Regions from separate parts of the Homo sapiens genome. Here regions 2 and 3 are each linked to region 1. Evidence: promoter capture Hi-C in 16 types of primary human blood cells and fetal thymus (Javierre and others, 2016). All regions are on one chromosome and are shown on one strand. The core of a region is centred on a gene start or on the middle of the fragment in contact, and the rest is flanking DNA. Distances in the headings are between cores, read along the strand shown.

Region 1 (3,154 bases), core at 308-2,807:
AAAGGACATGTTTCACTGTGGAGGTGCCCTCAGGGCTGGCGAAGGCCTTGGGGGAGGTGTCTTTGCAACTGTGTAGGGGTGGTTTTCTGATTAGCAAATCTGAGGGCAGGGAGATATTGTGATCAGGACTGTTTGATTCTGGGGAAGCCTCTTTTTACCCTGCCCACATAGAAGACTCTGCTTTGGATACAGAGTCAAGGACGGATACTGATACAATGGACCTGTAACTTGTCCATGGCTGCCTTTTGTACAGTTTAGTCCATTTGAGTAATCTCTACAAGCCTGCACCTCGAGGGCAAACTTCCTGCTCTTCTGGGGAATTTAATTGTGAATTGTCTGTTTCGGGGCCCATTTTGACTCCTGTATTCCAGGACTTATCTCTTTGGAGGCCTTGATTTGGAATTTCCCATTGGATGGGGCTACTTGGGTACTGGGTAGCTTCAACCTGGCTTCCGTAAGAACAAAGCCAGATGATCACGGTGGGTGGTCTGCTAGGAGAATGGAAATGCCATTGATTAAAATTGGAAGGTTAAGAGAGAGGCCTGAGAGTTTGGGATAGGAGATGAAGTTTCAAAAAATCAGTTTTTAAAAAAACATTTCCCATCTGAAATGCCAGTGAATTGTTCAGATAGATTACATTGAAAAGGCTGACATTTCTGTAGCAGCAACGAATGAAGTCATCCGAGTGGATGAGGTGCTCTAGGCCATACATGGAGAAGAGAACACAGTTACCCAAGCCTCCCCGACTGTGTGCGGCCACAGACTCTGCTCATTTCCCAGTTAGGAACGATGCAGGGGTCTGCTGGGATCTCCACGTTTCTACCTGTACCTCTGAGGACTGGGTTTCTGCCCACACGAGTTGCAGGATTTGCTCTACTGAGAAAAAGACTTTTGCTCCAGAAAGCAAGTTTCCCGTTTCAGACACGGACAGCGAGTTTTGCTTCTAGAATCATTTTCAGCTGCATACAGAAAAATGAACTTGGCTGAGCTGAAGAGCCACACATATGTTAAACGGAAGCTCGGGTATTAGGAACGTCGAGAAAGGCAGGCCGAAAAGTTAGCCCCCTTCTCCTCACCCCTGTCCTCACAGCGGCCCCTTCAGTGGCCTGACTTTTTCTGCGTGGGACCCAGAATGTCGCTTGAGGATGGGACCCCCGCAGACCTCCACGCGCTGCCACGCAAACGGCCTCGGCCGAGAGCATTCGCTTTCCAGATGAGAATGGCATCTTCAGGGACCCGCTGGTAGTGGGGCCAGGTCTCCACAGGGCCGGTCCAGTCCTTCCTACCCACCCGGGCCCTGCGGCCAGGCGGGGCCGGGAGGGGCGGATGCCGGAGGGCGCTGGGGGAGGCCGACCCGCGCGGGGCTGGTCCGAGGGCGGAGGCAATCCGCCGGCGACGCCGCAGGTCCCGGGTGGCTGACGCCGTCCGGGGGCGTTCCTGGGAGCTGGGGGCCGGCGAGGCTGGACCCGACGCGCCCGGGAGGAGCCGGCCGGCGGCCACGTGACCCACCGCGGCGGGGCCGGCGGCCCAGAAATAGCAGCGGCGGCGGTTCCGCCCGCGGGCGGCGCGAGCGAGGGGCAGAGGCGAGAGACGCCGGCGGGGCGCGGGCGCGGCGGCCCCGGAGGATGCTGCTGAGCCCCGGCACTGCCTGGCTGCGAGCACATGATGGCGATACGGGAGCTCAAAGTGTGCCTTCTCGGGGTGAGTCCTGGCCGCCACCCGCCGGCGGACCCCGGCCCGCGCTCTCGCGCCCCTTCGCTCCCCTATTCCCTGCGCGCTCAGTCCCCGTGATCCCCTCGCTCTCCGCACCCCTCTCGTAGCCCCCGTCCCCCTCGTCCGCGCGCCCCCTGGTTCCCCGGGTCCCCCTGGCTCCCCTAGTCCGTGCGCCCCTCGCTCTCCGCGCCCCTCGCTCTCCGCACCCCGCCTGTTCTCCGCCTCCCCGCCGTCCGTGCGCCCCTCTGGTCCGCCCCCGCTCTCACCCTGCCGGGGTCCGGGTCCGAGCCTGCCCCGGGCTTACTCCGCTCTTTCCTCCCGGCCCGCGAGTCCCCGGATCCGCGGCGACCTCGCGGGGACCCCCAGCGGGGACGGGGCAGTGGCGGCGAGTCTGGGGCCCCGAGGGCTTTCTCCTCCGCTTTTGATAGTTTCCTTCCGGCAGAAAGTTTAAGTTGCTCAGCCAAGTCGCTGAGTGCTCTTTTGCCTCCTGGGGGCAATTGATTTACTCACGTAAAACAGAAAAATAAAACCAAAAGCGAACCCAGCCAAGGGGGTGAAAGCCGAGGGCGCGGCCGGGGTGGAAGGTGAGGCAGTGACCTGTGCGGAGCGCGCCCTGCAAACTTCCCTGCTGCGGGTGAAAGAAGCTGCCTGGGAAAGTCCTCCCCACCATCACTCCCCTAAAGTGGGGTTTTCTCCGCCCGAAGAAGCCTTAAAGCAGCCAGAAACAAAAAAGCAGTCAATCCGTGCGGCCCGGGGACTGCAGACAGGGGACCCGGCGAGGACGCAGGGAGCCGCTGGCGAACCGCCCCTGGGAATTCAGATAAACGTAGGGTCGCTTCCTTTCGGGGGCCCACTCCGCATTCCAGAATTCCTTCTTCTAAAAGAAGAGCCGGTTCTAAGGGCGTTTTCAGCAGCCATTAGCATCTGGTGTACCCGCCCGTGTCATTGGCAAAGCTGGTCTCATGAAAACCATTTCCTAAAAAAGGGCAGCGAAAGGGTCGCATTCTTGTGCGAACTGATCTGTCAAGATGGGGGTACAAGAACTGTAGAAAGAGGAAATGATTTCGGTGAGGACTGAATTGTGCCAGCGTCTCTAGGCTTCCTCTAGGCTCTTGTGGAACCTCCGGCAGGCTCCCATCATCGGCTCCCATCACCGGCCTCTTCCAAAACCATCCCTTACGCTAACTCGATTGTCCGGTTGGCTTAGAATTCCAGAGGATCTGGGAAGGCCCTGCCCTCCCTGCTAGCCCCTGGCACAGATCCGCACAGATCCCCACCTCCCCCGACTTGCTCAGCCACAGCCAGGATCTAGTCTGGTCTTTCTCTGTTGACCTTTTTGTGTGGCAGGAGTGGGTTTTCCTGTTCCCCAGGCCCTCTAATATTTCCAGACATAAATTCCAGGAATCCCATGCTTCCCTCTTGAGGGGCCATTTCAGCCTCA
Region 2 (3,154 bases), core at 377-2,876, 240 kb after region 1:
CATCAGGCTCTTCAGATTGTCACTCCATGCATGACTCAAAGCCCACCCTCCCATCACACTTCCCCCCATTACATATACATATATAGCATAACATATACATATGTAGCATATGTATATGTAAATAAATTAGATTTTCTTGCACCTGTTATGTATGTTCACTGGTTTGTAAGGGGCCTAGGTAGTATGTGATATAACTTATTGGGCACACTTTTGAAATGTGTTTCGGCTTCACTGTATTCTTTGCATTCTATTCTGTTTATGCTCCACATATTGGTTATCATTTCTTCTCCTTTTTGTTACAAAAGCAGTATAACATTTTTAAGAGAAATTCAACAACAAAAAAATCTAATTCTATTTGCTTAGATAAATTCTAATCTAATTCCAAGTCTAATTCTATTAGAATTAGAAAAATCTAAATCTAATTCCAATCTAGTTATCTTTTTATGGAATGTCTTCCTATGGACATGTTATTTAAAATTTGAAAGAATGGAAAGCTGCCCATCAAATGCTTAACAAAAGTGAAATGTTTAATTTTGGCAAGGCATAGAATAGAATATTTAATGACATGTCATTTAATAATAGTAATATAAATAATAGTTTTGTTGATTTGACAAGATTGTGAGAAATGACTTTTTCCCTTCCCTCCGTAATTTAAAATTTTATGCAATGTAAAGAATTTAAAAATAATCAGTTGTCGAGCTTGATGATTCTTTTAGTTTTTTTTCTCTTTGGTGTTGACCCCATGTATATCTTTTTTTCCCCCTTTTGGAGATAGGGTCTCACTCTCACCTGGGCTGGAGTGCAGTGGCACGATCTCGTCTCATTGCAACCTCCGCTTCCTGGGCTCAAGCCACCTCAGTCTCATGAGTAGCTGAGATTACAGGTGCACACCACCATGCCTGGCTAATTTCTAAAATTGTTTTTTGTAGAGACAGGGTCTCCCTCTGTTGCTCAGGCTGTTCTTGAACTCCTGGGCTCAAGCAGGCCACCCATCTCGGCCTCCCAAAGTGTTGGGATTACAGACATCAGACATGGTGCCCTGCTTCATCCTCTTTAAGTTTTTATCAGTTTTCTGGTATGAGTATGATACTTTTTCCCAATTTTTAACCAAAACCTGAAAGTTCTTCTATTGCCATATTGGTGGCCATTGCCACCTCCTTTATAGAGTAAGTCAGTGTGCCAACCTCATTATCAGAAGTTGGATTTGTGCTAGGATAGAATTTGACCACACTGAAAATCACAAATGAGTTCTAACTACTATTAAGGAAAAGAACAGGAAAAAGTATTGGCAGGGTAAAATATATCTGAAACAGTTTTTTAATAATAGGGGCGGCTATTATTAGATTGGTTGGGGTGGGAGAAATGGGGGTGAAGAACAAAAAAGCTAGCAAGAGAAAAACTCAGAGAATTGAAGTAGGCTGCTTTAAAACGTTGCTTAACTGGGAAGCTTGAAGAAGAATGGAAGAGTCTGCCGACAGGTCACATACATGCTGTTGTTCATTAGAACCTCATTATAAATTTTCATTTTTAAATAGATTTTACATGGATTTAGGCATACTAATCAAATCACATCCCCTTCATAAGAATAACAAGTTTTGCCCTTTGAACAATCTGTTTATACTTAATATAAAATTGGCAGCTGGGATGGTGTGGTAGGTGTGCAGCCTCTGATAAATCTTATAAAATGAGTATTGTGGAATGCCATAAAGTTGATTTAGTAAATGTCTTTTTTAGCAGTTTATAGCTGAATAAAGCAGATTTTACCTAAAATTATTTTAAAGTAAGTGAATTTAATTAAAATGAAAAAAGCTTGTTACACTAATACTGCTACGATGTGTGGTGACATAAATGCTGTTGGAGTGAAGGATGTTGGGGTACTTTAGACAACGGGCTGAAGAATACATAGGTGCTGTCATAGATATTTATCTCCAGGCCTTCACTAGCTTCAAATGGTTCAATGTTGGTGAGGATTAAGATTTTGGGGCTCATAGTCTTCAAAGCATGCTAAGTGCTCCTGTGATGTTGAATCACGTGAATTAAAGCAAACAGCATTACTAAAGATGACAAATTAATAGAAGTTAGCTTTTCTTGGGCATGTTTTTTCTTAGGTAGTTTCCGATTTTATTGGAATGATTACGATAATATCCCCCTACCCCCCAGAACCTTATTTGAATTGCACAACCAGAGCACGGAAAATGACCTTCAATGGATTTTGTTGACGTCATTCAGCATACTTTCATTGAATAACTACTCTTGACCAAAGTGCTGGTTTTAGGGGTAAATACAAAGAGAGATGGCTCTTGCTCTCTCAGCCTTTGAAGTATTACAGGAAAGAACTTGAACAATAATTATTAAGATACATAATAAAGTGCTATGGTAGAGGTACGTGCCAGGGATTATGGGAATAGAGGGAGTGGGCTGGTTATTTAGACTAATCTGACTGCTGACATGTACTGATTTAGGCCTTTTAAAGAGTTTTTCATGAACAAAGATGTAGAATTTATATTGTTATTTGTTTAAAACCTGTAAGGAGATTTGGTTAGTTAAAAAATTCCCAATATCTTTGTAATGCAGAATGATATGGAACCTAGCAAAGCTGTTCCACTGAATGCATCTAAGCAAGATGGACCTATGCCAAAACCACACAGTGTTTCACTTAATGATACCGAAACAAGGAAACTAATGGAAGAGTGTAAAAGACTTCAGGGAGAAATGATGAAGCTATCAGAAGAAAATCGGCACCTGAGAGTAAGTTCTGTTGGTTGAAAATAAATTGATTGAAATGAAGGTATAGGACATGTGAGTGTTATTAGGCCATTTTAGCAATTAGCTTTTAAATTTTTGCTTGGTCAGTTCTTTCTTCTTTGCCCCAGTGCCTTTGCTCCCCACCCTACTCCTCTTTTAACAGTCTTCCCGTGGTTTCTCATTGCTGCAAGTTCCTTACTTTAGCACACATTCTAATTATTTGTGATCTGGCCTGCAGTATTGCCAGCTTCTGCTCTTGTTTCTCATGTCCTTCCCATTTTGTGCCCTAGTCATACTGAACTGCCTAGGATTGTGTTGTCCCACATCATAGCCATTAGTCACCTAGGGCTGTTGAGCACTGAAATGGGATTTGTTCAAATTGAGCTGTGCTGTTGAGTGTAAAATACTG
Region 3 (3,154 bases), core at 404-2,903, 130 kb before region 1:
TCTTTCCATTTACAGTTTCTGGTTCATAGGAGGTGCTCAGTTAACTTTTGCATAATCAATCAATCAATCTTAATACCACAACAGTTTAAGACAGCTTAAAACAAATGCCACTGTGCTATTTAAGGGAGGGCAAACAAACTAATGGTTCTGAGATTTAATAATATATAGGACTACTTCTTTATAGTTTGTCAAACTATGCAAAAGCTTTTACAATATTTAACATAACTCCTTCCTTAGCCAGGAATGCTCTCTTTCCCCTACCATATCATTAACATAATTTAATAAGCTCTAATATTACTGAAGATCAGCAATACAAGTAGTATTGCCTGGACATTAAGACATACCTCATTACAATGGAAGAAGAATCAAGGAATTGAACTACCTTTAAATAGCTATTGCAGTAATGCTACACACCGGTAGGCGGCAAACATGGCCTTGATAGGCACACTGTTGAGGTCAGTGAAGTTTTACTGGAACACAGCCAAGCTTGTCCATTTATGTAATGTCTACGGCTGCTTATACACTGCAAAGGCCGAGTGAGTAGTTGTGAAACAGAAGAAAGTTTACCAGCTCGTCCTATACAGTTCTCTGCAAATTTATAGTTTCTTACTAGACCCATTTCAGATTTTAAAACAGAAGTTATGTAACAGTCTTCAGTATAAACAGGTAATTTTTTAAGTATGCTGATTTCAAAAATGAAAAATAGATAACATTCCCCACCCACCATCATCACTTTTGTCAAAGTCCTGGCAGCACCTGTTTTCAAAAAAACTGACAGACTTTGCTTGCTAGGAAGACAGGTTTGAGTGATTTTCTTCCTTTACAAAAAACAGTACCTCAGGTTTGTTTGGCTATTCAGCAGGACAGTAGGAGAACGGGCAAAAAGGTAAAACAAGGCAGCAGAGAAGAAAGAAGAACTGCCAAATCAAAACACCAAGAAAGCAAATAGCACAGTATCAAGACCTACAGAAGAAAATGTCCATTAGCATCATGACAAGGGAGGGAAAAGACACTATGGTAACTCAAGCATTATAGCAGGGACTGTTTCAAATATTTGTACTAAAATTACTTCAAGTGCATAACTGTAAAAGTTTGTGTACATTTCCCGCATACTAGTAAGTTAGGCTTGAATTAGTTTTTCCCCTAAATATATATTATAATAAATTTTTAAAATTTAAATTTAATAGAAAATTTTCAATGCAAAAACATTTAAAAATAAAAATCACAGCCGACTCTTTAAGCTTTATTTAAAACTTTGGTTTCCTTATGAGACTGATATACTTAAAACTGATATACTGGCTAATATACTGGCTTTCTCCTTTAACTGACAGATTACAATCACCATTGACAAAGAATCCAAGATGCGCAACTAAATTATTTGACAGAAAAGGACAATAAAACATATTCCTAAATTAAGTTTTACTCCTTAAAAACAAATTTAAAAAAACCCAAATACTACACAGTGTGTAACAATTACCCTGTATATTGTAGATATCAATGAATGATTGACTAAATAATGTACTAAATAAACATTTTTTAAAAGTCATAATCTACCATTTAGAGTTTCCTATGTGCGAGGCATCTAGCTAATTGTGTTACATGCATCTACTCATTCAATATGTAACCAACCAAAGAGATACTTAACAAACAAATGCGCTTAAAGTAAAGCTCTATAAAAATATTCACCAATTTTTATATTCAAGAGAAATAGCAAACTATCAAAAAATAACATTTGTTGCAGAATAGTGGAAATAATGTTTAAAAGCAGTAAAATTAGAAAACAAGGTTTTAAAATTAGAAAATGGTTTCAAAATTATACCTATTTTTGTTTTCTACTGACATCTCTTCTGAACTTTTGCTTTCTTCTTTAAAATACTGGCCTGAGCTAGATGGATTAGCAAAAGTAGATATGAAAGGTCCCAGAGACTGAAAAGCTGCTTGGCGAACCTAGGAAGATAAAAAGGACAATAATAAAGGAATCATTTTGAAAAAGAATTATATACGCACACATTATGTATATTTAATAATCTACTTTCAAATGCCGAAGTATGTTTAGGATAATAATGAAGCTTTTCTAAAGGAAGCCCAGATTCAGAACTTTAGCTAGGACTGAAAAATTCTTACAAGCTATTTTCTCTGGCTGGGCGCAGTGGCTCATGCCTGTAATCCCAGCACTCTGGGAGGCTGAGCTGGGCAGATCGCTTGAGTCCAGCAGTTTGAGACCAGCCTGGGCAACATGGCGAAATCCAGTCTCTACAAAAAATACCAAAGTTAGCAGGGCGTGGTGGCGCATGCCTGTGGTCCCAGCTACTCGGCAGGGCCTGAGGTGGAAGAAGCGCGTGAACCCATGAGGCTAAGTCTGTAGTGAGCCGTGATCACACCACTGTACTCCAGCCTGGGTGACAGAGCAAGACTGTCTAAAAAAAAAACCCCAAACAAACCCCTATTTGCTCTTTTTTACTTTCAATTGTTTTTATCCTCTCTTGAATGTTTGAACCATGATAATCTAAGTATGAGATACTATGAAACATTTGCATAGAACAAAACTAAAGAAGGTCCTGCTGTGTTCTCAAGAACAAAAAGAATAAGGAAAACCAAGAGTGCCACAAAGAACATAAAAATCAATAAAGCCAACAAAATGTGATAAATACATTTAATGTTTTCAGGTAGGAAAGACTTTAATTTGTTCACTAGAAGGAAGCAAGACAGACGTACCAGAAACATAATGTTAACTTAAAGTATGTCACAAAGATCTTGAAGCATATACTATTGTTCTTGATGACTGTCTCATGTAGGAGGGGTGATAAAGAAGTTATAGAATTCCACTTCATGTCGTATTTCTGTATTATTTTTAAAATCAGGAATTTTTAAAACATTTGAAAATGAGAGGTTTTATGGAAGGATGGACACAATCGGACAAAGGCAACAACAATGGGAAACTGGTATGTTACTAAAACCTTGACTTTGCCACACACCAATTTCCCTGAAGTTTAGCATTCCTTTTCCTTTTGAGACAGCTCTTGCTCTGCTGTGGAGGCTGGAAAACAGTGGTGCTACCATGGCTCACTGCAGCCTCAAAATCCTTGGCTTAAGTGATCTTCCAACCTCAGCCTCATGAATAGTTGGGGACTATAGGCATGTGCCACCACATCCA

What was found. The method cuts DNA at HindIII sites, captures the fragments that hold promoters and counts their contacts. A CHiCAGO score of 5 or more calls a contact.
Region 2: a contact is called between a fragment that was not itself captured here and the fragment with the promoter of RAB31 in region 1, in 1 of 17 cell types (erythroblasts). The highest score is 5.1, in erythroblasts.
Region 3: a contact is called between a fragment that was not itself captured here and the fragment with the promoter of RAB31 in region 1, in 1 of 17 cell types (neutrophils). The highest score is 5.7, in neutrophils.

The regions. Positions count from the first base shown.
Region 1 is chr18:9,706,744-9,709,897 of GRCh38, forward strand. RAB31 (RAB31, member RAS oncogene family) reads left to right here and starts at 1,558. Exons shown (of 7, transcript NM_006868.4): 1 at 1,558-1,701. The coding sequence starts at 1,663. LOC124904244 (a long non-coding RNA gene) reads right to left here and starts at 1,229. Exons shown (of 2, transcript XR_007066281.1): 1 at 1-1,229. It overlaps LOC105371981 (a long non-coding RNA gene), which reads left to right and starts at 1,929. Exons shown (of 2, transcript XR_935131.2): 1 at 1,929-3,154. RefSeq lists silencers at 1,253-1,822, 1,923-2,152. The HindIII fragment of the contact is 11,750 bases long and covers 1-3,154 here.
Region 2 is chr18:9,947,821-9,950,974 of GRCh38, forward strand. It overlaps VAPA (VAMP associated protein A), which reads left to right. Exons shown (of 6, transcript NM_194434.3): 5 at 2,575-2,748. Among named protein-coding and RNA genes, the nearest start is that of VAPA, 35 kb to the left of the region's middle. The HindIII fragment of the contact is 362 bases long and covers 1,446-1,807 here.
Region 3 is chr18:9,575,245-9,578,398 of GRCh38, forward strand. It overlaps PPP4R1 (protein phosphatase 4 regulatory subunit 1), which reads right to left. Exons shown (of 20, transcript NM_001042388.3): 10 at 1,820-1,947. Among named protein-coding and RNA genes, the nearest start is that of PPP4R1, 38 kb to the right of the region's middle. RefSeq lists an enhancer at 1-7. The HindIII fragment of the contact is 828 bases long and covers 1,240-2,067 here.